Linked DNA regions of Homo sapiens: all the other regions are linked to region 3. The links are contacts of gene promoters, found by promoter capture Hi-C in human tissues and cell types (Jung and others, 2019). All regions are on one chromosome and are shown on one strand. Each heading gives the region's core, a stretch centred on a gene start or on the middle of the fragment in contact. The rest is flanking DNA. Distances are from core to core; before and after follow the strand shown.

What was found. Contacts are between HindIII fragments. The study calls those that stand out against the background at their distance.
Region 1: a fragment that was not itself captured here is called in contact with the fragment with the promoter of RBFA in region 3 in 2 of the 25 tissues and cell types used here (lymphoblastoid cells and spleen).
Region 2: a fragment that was not itself captured here is called in contact with the fragment with the promoter of RBFA in region 3 in 1 of the 25 tissues and cell types used here (lymphoblastoid cells).
Region 4: a contact is called between a fragment that was not itself captured here and the fragment with the promoter of RBFA in region 3, in 3 of the 25 tissues and cell types used here (IMR-90 fibroblasts, lymphoblastoid cells and mesenchymal stem cells).

Annotation. Positions count from the first base shown.
Region 1 is chr18:79,649,959-79,652,658 of GRCh38, forward strand. All of the region lies in intron 2 of CTDP1-DT (CTDP1 divergent transcript), which reads right to left. Among named protein-coding and RNA genes, the nearest start is that of CTDP1-DT, 28 kb to the right of the region's middle. The HindIII fragment of the contact is 4,983 bases long and covers 1-2,700 here.
Region 2 is chr18:79,698,466-79,701,165 of GRCh38, forward strand. All of the region lies in intron 4 of CTDP1 (CTD phosphatase subunit 1), which reads left to right. Among named protein-coding and RNA genes, the nearest start is that of CTDP1, 20 kb to the left of the region's middle. RefSeq lists an enhancer at 1-339. The HindIII fragment of the contact is 9,627 bases long and covers 1-2,700 here.
Region 3 is chr18:80,033,103-80,035,802 of GRCh38, forward strand. It overlaps RBFA (ribosome binding factor A), which reads left to right and starts at 1,332. Exons shown (of 7, transcript NM_024805.3): 1 at 1,332-1,551. The coding sequence starts at 1,394. It also overlaps a transcript of TXNL4A not described here. RefSeq lists silencers at 618-787, 819-975, 858-1,177, 1,188-1,267, 1,378-1,527. The HindIII fragment of the contact is 12,317 bases long and covers 1-2,700 here.
Region 4 is chr18:79,757,858-79,760,733 of GRCh38, forward strand. No RefSeq gene overlaps it. Among named protein-coding and RNA genes, the nearest start is that of KCNG2, 39 kb to the right of the region's middle. The HindIII fragment of the contact is 3,286 bases long and covers 1-2,876 here.

The sequences.
Region 1 (2,700 bases), core at 85-2,584, 380 kb before region 3:
TAAGACAAAACGGGATCCTTCTAACTCAGAGTCGCTAGAGTTACCACCACAATCAAATGCACCCTAGAAGCTTTTGGCGGTGTGTGCGCGTGGGCTCAGGGCTCGTGACCCTCTGTTCCGGCCCACGCTTCTGACCGGTGATTAGAAAGCGGCACGTTCTATCCTCGGCCCTGTCAGCCCTGCAGGGCGCACCAGCTGCTCTCACGGGCCACAGAATCACAGATGCGGTCCTCACCTCTCGGGAGCGGCCTTCTCCTAGACAGCACACGAGCCATCTACGTTTTCCCGGTTGTCTTTTTCATTCCAAAGTCCACATGTGCGCTACCACCTCCTTTAAAACATAAAAACAGAAAAGCAAAACGACGAAAAAGGTAGCAGTTCCCTTTAGCCACAGTGCAGCGCATTTGTTTTCATTATTCCTCCGTTTTACTGAGAGTAATGTGCCATCCAGACAAGCCCATGGGAGCGGTAAAAAGAGTCAGGGAATAGTCGATTGAGCTGGAACGGCCCCCATGCTCACGCACCTTATAGAGCAGATTCAACTGGCCTGTGTGTTAGGATGCACGGTGCAAACTGTTCTGACGGTAATCCATCATGGAATAGCATCTTCCATGCAGATGTACTTTTTGCTTATAGACACCTTGTCTTACGGAGCTCTCTCCCCACAATGACAAGATTCTGACAGTGGAGGCATCGCTTTCTCCGCGTCACATCAGCAGGGCCCCTCCACTCACGGGGACTTTCCACATTTTGCTCTTTTTCTCTGCCTCATGTATCGAAATAAAAGCAACCGCAAACACATGCCTCTTCTGGAATGCGTGCTCTGTCTCAAAACCCAGCCCAAAAGGAAGAAGAGGAGGAAGAGGAGGAGGAGGGGGAGGAAGAAACTGGTTTTCCCTGTTGGCCTATTTTATGCAGTTAAAAACACACCGAAGAAAAATCGGAGGGGATGTCTACTTATGGCAGTAAGGCAGGCCAGACACTTGGAAGGGTCCTCACCAACAAAACCATCCGATCCTGCCTGAGACTTGGTTTTCCTGCCAGTATTGGGCTTGAATGAAATAAGGGACTTCTTCAAGGCTCCCTTCGTGACCTGAATTCAGAGGAGGGAAATCCCATAATGAAATGGAAAAGGTGAGGTTGCCCTGGGAGGACTTGCCACATCAGAGCCACCTAAAGGTTGTCTGGGCCAGGAGGTGAGCTGGGGCTCCAGGCCCAGCAGAGGAGGCAAATGTGCTCCCCACTGGGGTCCCCAGCTTGAGCCAGTAGTAAACACCACCGGGTTCTCACAGAGTGACATCAGGCAAACCTGAGCTCACGGCCAAAGAGCAGCAAACACACGCAGAGGAACGCGTCCGTGAGCAAAAGTCAGCACGCACGACCCGAACACAAAACAGACTCAGACCCGCAGAGGCACCAAAATTAGAGGTTAGAGCTGGAGAAATTGTGCAGAATGCATAACAGAAAAACAGGGAGGCAAAAAATATTTGAAAGATTAAGAGGAAGAGATTATAGAATAAGGTCTAACGAATATCTATTCATAGTTCTAGGAAGTGAGACCAAAAAGGAAGAGGGAAAAATGATTAATTAAAGAGATGATGCTTGAAAACCTGCAAGAATTGATGAGAGTCGTGAATACACAATAAATTCCAAACAGAGTAAATAAAAAGAAATCCACCCATAGACACATGCAAGAAATCCACCCATAGACACTTCCATTGACATGCAAGAAAATGTCAGAACACTGAGGCCAGGCACGGTGGCTCACGCCTGTACTCCCAGCATTTCGGGAGGCTAAGGCGGGTGGATCACCTGAGGTCAAGGGTTTGAGACCAGCCTGGCCACCATGGTGAAACCTTGTCTGTGCTAAAAATACAAAAATTAGCTGGGCATGGTCGCGGGCACCTGTAATCCCAGCTACCTGGGAGGCTGAGGCAGGAGGCTAAGGTTGCAGTGAGCCAAGATCGCTCCATTGCACTCCAGTCTGGGCGACAAGAGCGAAAACTCCGTCTCAAAAAAGAAAAAAAAAAAATTCAGGGCACCGAAGACAAACAGAAGACAGATCACCTATAAAGCCAACAATAAGACTAACAGATTTTATTTTCTTCTTTTTTTTTTTTGTTTTGGTTTTATTCAAGACAGAGTCTTGCTCTGTCACCCAGGTTGGAGTCCAGTGGCACAGTCTTGGCTCACTGCAACCTCCACCTCACAGGTTCAAGCCATTCTCATGCCTTGGCCTCCCGAGTAGCTAGGATTACAGGAGTGTGCCATTATGCCTGGCTAATTTTTGTATTTTCGGTAGAGACAGGATTTCACCATGTCGGCCAGGCTGGTCTTGAACTCCTGACCTCAGGTGATCCACCCTCCTCGGCCTCCCAAAATGTTGGGATTACAGGCGTGAGCCACTGTGCCATGCCCAGATTTTCGACAGCAAAAATAGAAACTGGAATCCAGTGGAATCATGTCTTCTAAAAACAAATTGTCATTCTACTGCTGTCTACCCAAACCGTCTTTCCACAATGAGAGCAAATAAAACATTCTCAAAGAAACAGAAACTGAGAGTTAAACTCCAATAAAACTTTCCTAAAGGAGTTCTAAAGAATGTTCTCTAAGCAGGTGGAAACTAATCCCATAAGGGCATGATAGACTTATGCATAACATCGTGTGGTGTGTAGCATGTATTATGCAGCGTGTATTACG
Region 2 (2,700 bases), core at 121-2,620, 330 kb before region 3:
TCTCCAGGGGAAACACGGGGAAATGCAGGGTGAGGGCAGAACCCTGTTTAATGCACACGAAACCCTTCCTGTGCCTCAGCTGTGTCCTCAGGATGGAACCAGAGAAGCTGAATTTCTAGACCGAAGGCTTTGAATGTCTGTGCCCAGAGGCTTGCGCAGAGGCTTGTGTCGGCCTAGACGGTGGCCATCAGGGAGGCCCTCACCAACACTGAGTTGTTTTTTAAGTGTTTGCTATTGAACAGTATGTGGACTCTGGCGTTAGATTTGGGATTTCAGAGGCCCATCAGTTCTGACCTTACCAGTTCTAAAGGTTCCTGGGGATCCTGCAGGTCCCAATAGCAGACACCCAGCAGGCTGGAGGATGCACCACGGAGCCGGGCATCCTCCGCTGCTGAATGCCGGGGCGTGGTACCAACAGCTGGGACAGATTGATGACAGTTACACATAAGTCAAATTTGTGACAAGCTTCATCTGGAAGAAGTTTGGTTAAGTTTGGCCTTGTAAGTCAGTCAGGTGGTCAGGGTGAGCTGCACAGACCCCCCAGGTGGCACAAACTCTCGCGTTTTATGCTGTTTGCAGAATGGAGAGAATCGAGTAACTGCCGTGCTGCACAGGAGTTTGTTTAGGGCCGGAATTCAGGTCTAACCCACAAAACAGCTTCTATTTCTGGCTGTGTTAGTCATTTGTGTGTCTCGTGGCATCTTACACAGCAGTCTATTCTTCTGTGCAGTATAAACTGTGACTAGATATTTTCAGATTGCTTCGTTCATACCCGCTACTCTACTCACTAAGGTTTTTTGTTTGTTTGTTTTTGAGACAGAGCCTCACTCTGTCACCCAGGCTGGAGTGCAGTGGCAGGATCTTGGCTCACTGCAAGCTCTACCTCCCGAGTTCACGCCATTCTCCTCCCTCAGACTCCCAAGTAGCTGGGACTACAGGTGCCCGCCACCACACCTGGCTAATTTTTTGTATTTTTTTTAGTAGAGACGGGGTTTCACCGTGTTAGCCAGGATGGTCTCAATCTCCTGACTTTGTGATCCGCCTGCCTCGGCCTCCCAAAGTGCTGGGATTACAGGCATGAGCCACCGCGCCCGCCCAAGGTTTTTTTTTTAATGCCTATTTTCTGACAAACTAGGTATTTTGAAGGATGTAAGGACTTTATGAAAATACATTCTGCACACATATACCTTCATGAGTTGCTGTGGCTGTTTCCTGCTTTTATTGTGCCTTTGAAGTTGGGCATTGAGTGAGTTTTACAGGCACACCTCATTTTATGGTGCTTCACTGATACTGTGTTCACAGGGAGGAGGCTCGGAGCAACCTGGCGAGCACGTCTGCAGGTGCCATTTTCCAGCAGCATGTGCCCCCAGGTGTTGTGCCACGCTCTGGAAATTTCCCGTGTACTTCAGCCTCCTCGTTAGTGCTCTGCTGTTACAGGGAGCTGTAGTCAGTGATCTTTGAGGTCACTGTTGTCATAGTTGCTTCATCAGTGTTCTGTCAGCTATAGGGATTTGTGGTCAGTGATCTTTGAGGTCACTGTTGTCATTGTTTTGGGGTGCCACGAACCACACCCACATAAGACGGCAAACGTAATGGGTAGATGTGTGTGTCCTGACTGCTCCACCAACTGGCCATTCCCTGTCTCTGTCCCGGTGCTCAGGCCTCCCTATTCCCTGAGACATAACAGTATTGAAATTAGGCCAGCGTAGTAACCCTACAGTGACCTCTGAGTGTTCAAGTGGGAGGAAGGCTCACCAGTCTCTCACTTTAAATCAAAAGGTAGACGTGATTATGCTTAGTGAGGAATGCACGCCAGAAGCCAGGAAAGGCTGCAAGCTGGTCCTCTTGCACTAAACAGCCAAGGTGTGAATGCAAAGGAAAAGTTCTTGAAGCAAACTAAAAATACTACTTCAGTGAACACACAGATGATGAGACAGTGAAACAGCCTTATTGCTGAGAAAGAGAAAGTTTTAGTGGTCTGAGTAGAAGATCAAACCAGTCACAACATTCCCTTAAGCCAAAGCCTAATCCAGAGCAAGGCCCCAACTGTCTTCAATTCTGTGAAGGTTGAGAGGGGTGAGGAAGCTGCAGAAGAAAAGCTGGAAACCAGCACAGGTTGGTTCATGAGGGTGAAGGAAGAAGCCGTCTCCGTAACACAAAAGTGAAGGTGAAGCAGCAGGTGCTGTTGGAGAAACTGCGGCAAGTTCCCCTGGAGATAGGCTGAGATCACTGATGAAACTAAACACGCTAAACAACAGATTTTCAGTGCAGACAAAACAGCCTTCTGTTGGAAGAAGATGCCGTCTAGGACTTTCATAGCTGGAGAGGAGAAGTCAGTGTCTGGCTTCAAAGGACAGGCTGACTCTCTCGTTGGAGACTAACTAATGCAGCTGGTGACTTTAAGTTGAAGCCAGTGCTCATTTGCCATTCTGAAAATCCCAGGGCCCTTAAGAATGATGCTAAATCTCCTCTGCCTGTGCTCCATCCATGGAACAACAAAGGCTGGATGACAGCACCTCTGTTCACAGCATGGTTTACTGACCATTCTAAGCCCGCTCTTGAGACCTGTTACTCAGAAAGAGAGATTCTTCTAAGAAATATTCCTGCTCATTGACCATGCACCTGGTCACCCAAGAGCTCTGATGGAGACGTACAGGAGAGGAATGTTGTTTTCATGCTGCTGACACCACATCCACCCTG
Region 3 (2,700 bases), core at 82-2,581:
TTGGCAAATAAATCTCCTAAAATGATTAGAGACTTGTCTCGTCGTTTTCTTCGATTGACAATATATACACACATACATACGCATACACACACACATATATACGCGCACGCACATGCACACATATACATGTCCACACACATGCACACACACGTACATATGCACACATACACATGTACACATCCACACGCGCCCACACACACACACACACACAGACGTGTCTCACACCACAGCAGCCGCCTCGGGGGAGTCACAGCCCACGCATCCCCAACACTGCGGTCGCGCTCACTTCTCTTTCCACGCCCGGGGGGAGCAGCTTCCCCGCTGGGCCACGCTGACTCTGGGGAGGCGGGCGGGGCGAGACCACTTCTGGGGAGGACGCCCAATCTGGGGACTTTCTCTAGGTGCCCGGGGAGAAGGCGGCGCAGCAGCAAAGCCCTGGAGGGCCCAGTGGCGGAAACAGACGGACCCCTCGCAGCCTCCCGCCGACAGCGGCCCTGCCCAGGTCTCCAGGCTTCGATGCCTTCGTTGCTTTGTGCGGCGCACCCGCCTACGTCAGTTCCCAGTATTTAAACAAAACGTGTTCCTAGCTACGCAGCGCCAGGCAACCAGGCGGTTCCCACGCTTCCCCGAGTGGCACACCCTCCGCGCAGCCCACGCGGCCTCCCCACGCCCAGCTCCCGCCGGCCCCGCCTCGCGTCGTCCTTCGCCCCGCCCCCGTTGCCGCCCCCCCCGCCCGCACACTGCCCACCTGGCGTTGTCTTCACCCCGCTTACACGCCGCTCGCTTCGCTCTGGTAGTCGCCCACCTCGCGCTGCCCTTCTCGCTTCAGTCTTCGCCCTGCCCACCCACCGCCCACCTCGCGCCAGTCTTCGCCCCGCCCATTCACCGCCCGCCTCGCGTCAGTCTTCGCCCCGCCCAACCACCGCCCGCTTCGCGTCGGTCTTCACCCCGCCCACTCGCCGTTCGCCTCGCGCCTTCGCCCCTCCGCCGTTGTCGCCCCGCCCCTTCTTGCGTCCAGTCTTTGCCCCGTCCCTCGCCGTCGCCCCGTCCACACGCCGTCAGCTTCGCGTCTGTCCTCGCCCCGCCCACCTACCGCCCCCCTCGGGCCTTCGCCCCTCCGCCGTCGTTGCCCCGCCCGCCTTGCACCCCGTCTTCGTCCCGCCCCGCGCCGTGGCCCCGCCCACACGCCGTCAGCTTCGCGTCTGTCCTCGCCCCGCCCTGCATCATCGCCCCGCCCTGCATCATCGCCCCGCCCACACGCCGCCTGCCAGGCGTGAGTCTTCCTCCCGCTCTGCGCCGTCGCCCCGCCCACACGCCGCCACCCTCGCGTCAGTTGTCGCTCCGCGCCTGCGCCCGTTGTCTCCCTGCTCGCTCCGGGTCCCGGCGCCGCGCCATGTGGGCTGCGGCGGGCGGGCTGTGGCGCTCCCGCGCGGGTCTCCGGGCCCTGTTCCGTAGCCGCGATGCTGCGCTATTTCCAGGCTGCGAGCGGGGACTTCACTGCTCTGCTGTCTCCTGCAAGAACTGGCTCAAGAAATTTGCCTCGAAAACCAAGTAATGCGGCGGGGGCGGTGTCCCTGGGCGCGGTATTCCCTAGGGGGCGGTGTCCCCGGGTTGCGGTGTCCGCTCATCCGCGTTCTTGCGCCCATGCGGCCTAGCTCGCCAGTTCCTGCCTCCTGGGGTCTGCAGCAGTTCTAGCTCTCACTGTCAGCATTTGCAGCTTTTGTGTTCGTGGACGTGTGTCGGGTTAAGAAAACAAAGTGACAATGTGTGTTTATTTTGATTCTTGTCACCAGACGTATTTTTCAGAAGATTAGTTTCAGAAAATGAGGAAAAATGAAAAAATATAAGAATTTCCTTGCTAATGTTGACTTTCTGTGTGAATTTGAAGACTAAAGCTTGTCATGATAATTAGTGTTTTTAAATTATGAAAGATAAGTACAATAAAATACATTGACTTTTCACACTGCTTTTAGTTCTTCTAAGTATGGTAGGTGGTTGTATGTTTTCTACTTTAATACACTACTTTTAAAGACAGTTTTAGACCCTGCAGAAAAATTGCAAAAATAGTACCGCGTTCCTGTGTCCTGGCACCCAGCTCCCCCTGTGTTAGCGTCGGACTTTAGCTTCCAACGTGTTCCAGTTAATGAGCCGATATTGATAAGAGTGTTGCTAACTGAAGCTCATACTTTATTCACTTTTCCTTGGTTCTGCCTGCTGTCCCTTCCTGTCCCAGGTGCCCACCCAAGGTCCACGTTACATTGAATTGTCTTGTTTCCTTAGGCTGGGGTAGTGTCCCAGACTGTCCCTGGTTTTGATGGCTGTGCCAGTTTTGAGGGGTACTGGTCAGGTGCTTTGCAGGATGCCTCTCTGTTGGAATGTGCCTGTTTTTTTAATGCTTAGACGTGGATTATGGCTTTTGGGGAGGAAGACTACAGAGGTAAAGGCCATTCTCATCGCACCGTATCCAGGGTCCACGCTGGCCGTGATCCCCTGCATGAGGTGCTTGCCAGGTTTCTCTACCGTAAAGTTACTCTTTTTGCCCCCTTTCCTTACTGTACTCTGGGAGAAAGTCGCTGTGTGCAGCCCATGCCTAATGAGTGGGGAATTTTGCTCATAAGTGGTTTGCATTCTGCACAAGGGATATGTCTCTTCACCCCATGTATTAATTCATTCATATCACCAAGAACTCATGGGTTATAA
Region 4 (2,876 bases), core at 357-2,856, 270 kb before region 3:
TGTCTCTTGCAAGTCCTGTCTCCTAGTCTGCCTTGTCTTCTAATTCTCTTGACAGTGTCTTTGAGAGGGCAGAATTTTTTCATTTTCATGAAGTTCAGCTCATCAGTTACTTCTGTCATAGACTGTGCCTTTGCTGTTGTGTGAAAAGGTTCACCATCATACCTAGATCATGTAGGTATTCCCTAGGGGTTTCATAGTTTTGCATTTTATAGTTAGGTCTCTGATCTATTTTCAGCCAATTTTTGTGAAAGGTGTAATGTGTGTGTCAACATTCATTTCTTTGCTTATGGACATCCAGTTGTTCCAGAACCATTTGTTAAAAAGACTCTTTTCTCCACTGTATTCCCTTTGCTCACTTGTGAAAGATCAGCCGACTGTATCTTTGTGGGTCTGTTTCATCAATCCATTTGTCTTTCTTTCACCAGTACCTCAGTGTCTTAATTACTGTCGCTTTAGTTAAGTCTTGAGGTCGGGTACTGTCCATCCTCCAGCTTCTTTCTTCTCCTTCAGTATTTTGTTGGGTATTCGGGGTCATTGCCTCTCCATATAAACTTTAAAGTCAGTTTGTCAGTATCCACAAGATAACTTGCTAGGATTTTGATTAGGATTGCATTGAATGTGTAGATCAAATTGGGAAGAACTGACACCTTGAAAGACTTGATTCTTCCTATCCATGTACATAGAATATCTCTCTGTTTCATTCTTCCTTGACTTTGTTGATCAGAATTTTGTAGTTTTCCTGATAGAGATCTTATCTATATATAGTTAGATTTATACAAAAGTATTTTATTTGGCACAGGTAATGTAAGTGATACTATGTTTTTAATTCCAAATTCCACTTGTTCATTGCTGGTATATAGGAAAGCAGTTGACTTTGTGTATTAACCTTGCATGCTGAAAACTTGCTGTAGTTCCAGGAGGCACTTGGTCGGGGCAGTCCAATTCTTTTGGATTTTCTACACAGACAATTATGTCATCTGCAAAGAGTTTTATTTCTTCGCTCCCAATCAGTATACTTTTTATTTCCTTTTCTTACTGCATTAGTTGAGACTTCCAGTATGATGTTGAAAAGGAGTGGTGAGAGGATGTCCTTGCCTTGTTCCTGATCTTAATGGGAAAGCTTTGCATTTCTCACCATTATTATAGATTTTCTGTGTCAAGTTGAAGTTCCCCTTTATTCCTAGTTTGCTGAGTTTTATCATGAATAAGTATTGAATTTTTGTCAGATGCTTTTTCTGCATCTGTTGATACGCTCACGTAATTTTTTTGTTGTTGCTGTGATGGGTTACATTGATTTTCAAATCCCAGTAGTCTGGGGTAAATCCCAATAGTCTTGCTGTAGAATTCTTTTTATGCATTGTAGCTTTCAGTTGGATAAGATTTGGTTGACGATTTTGCATCTGTGTTCATGAGAGATATTGGTCTATAGTTTTCTTATTTTCATCTGGTTTGTGTAATAGAGTGATGCTGGTCTCATAGAATGAGCTTGGAAGTATTCCCTCTGCTTCTGTCTTCTGAAGGAGATGATAGAAATTTCATATAATTTCTTCCTTAAATATTTGGCAAAATTCACCAGTAAACTCATCTGGGCTTGATGCTTTCTGCTTTGGAAAGTTGTTTATTATTGATTCAATTTCTTCAATAGATATTGGCCTATTTAGACAAACTGGTTCTTATATGAGTTTCAGCAGATTGTGTCTTTGAAGGAATTGGTCCATTTCATCTGGGTTATCACATTTGTGGGCATAGAGTTGTTCATAGTATTCCCTTATTATCCTTTTAATGTCTATGGGATCTGTAGTGATGTCCCCTCTCATTTTTTGATATTAGCAGTTTGTGTCCTTTTTTTTTTTTTCTTACCCTGGCTAAAGAGATATCAATTTTCTTTCTTTTCAAAGAACTAGCTTCTGGCTTCCTTACTTTTCTGTATTGATTTCCTATTTTCAATTTCATTGTTTTCATCTCTAATTTTTTTTATCACTTCTACTTAGTGATTGTTGTTTTTTGAGATGGAATCTCACTCTGTCACCCAGGCTAGAGTGCAGTGGTGCAATCTTGGCTCACTGCACCCTCCACCTTCTGGGTTCAAGTGATTCTCCTGCCTCAGCCTCCTGAGTAGCTGGGACTACAGGCATGCACCACCACGCCCAGCTAATTTTTGTATTTTTAGTAGAGACGGGGTTTCACCACATTGGCCAGTCTGGTCTCAAACTCCTGACTTCAGGTGATCTGCCTGCCTTGGCCTCCTAAAGTGCTGGGGATTACAGGCGTGAGCCACCGCACCCAGCCTATTACTTCTACTTTGAATTTAATTTGTTATTCTTGTCTTATTCAGGTGGAAGCTTCAGTTATTGATTTTAGATCTTTTCTAATATATGCATTCAGTACTCTGAATTTCTCTGCAGTACTGCTTTTGCTGCATCCCACAAATTTTGGTAACTTGTGTTTTCATTTTCATTTACTTCAAAATATTTTTAAATTTCTCTTGGTATTACTTCTTTGTCCTGTATGTTATTTAGAAATGTGTTGTTTAATTGCTGCATGTTTTTGTGATTTTTCAGTTATCTTTCTATTACTGATTTTTGCTGTAATTTCACTGTGATCTGAGAGCAGACACTGCATGATTTCTCCTCTTTTAAGTTTGCTGAGGTGTGATTGATGGCCTGTCTGCATGAATGTTCCTGTGAGCCTGAGAAGAACGTTACTGTGCTGCTGGTGGATAACATTGTCTGTAGATGTTAATGATATCCAGTTGATTGATGGTAGTGTTGAGTTTGACCATATGCTTACTGATTTTATACCTACTGACCACCCTGTCTCCTCCCCTCCTTATAGCCCTTGCTGAATTTGGGGTTGTTTTGATTTTTGCCTTTTTG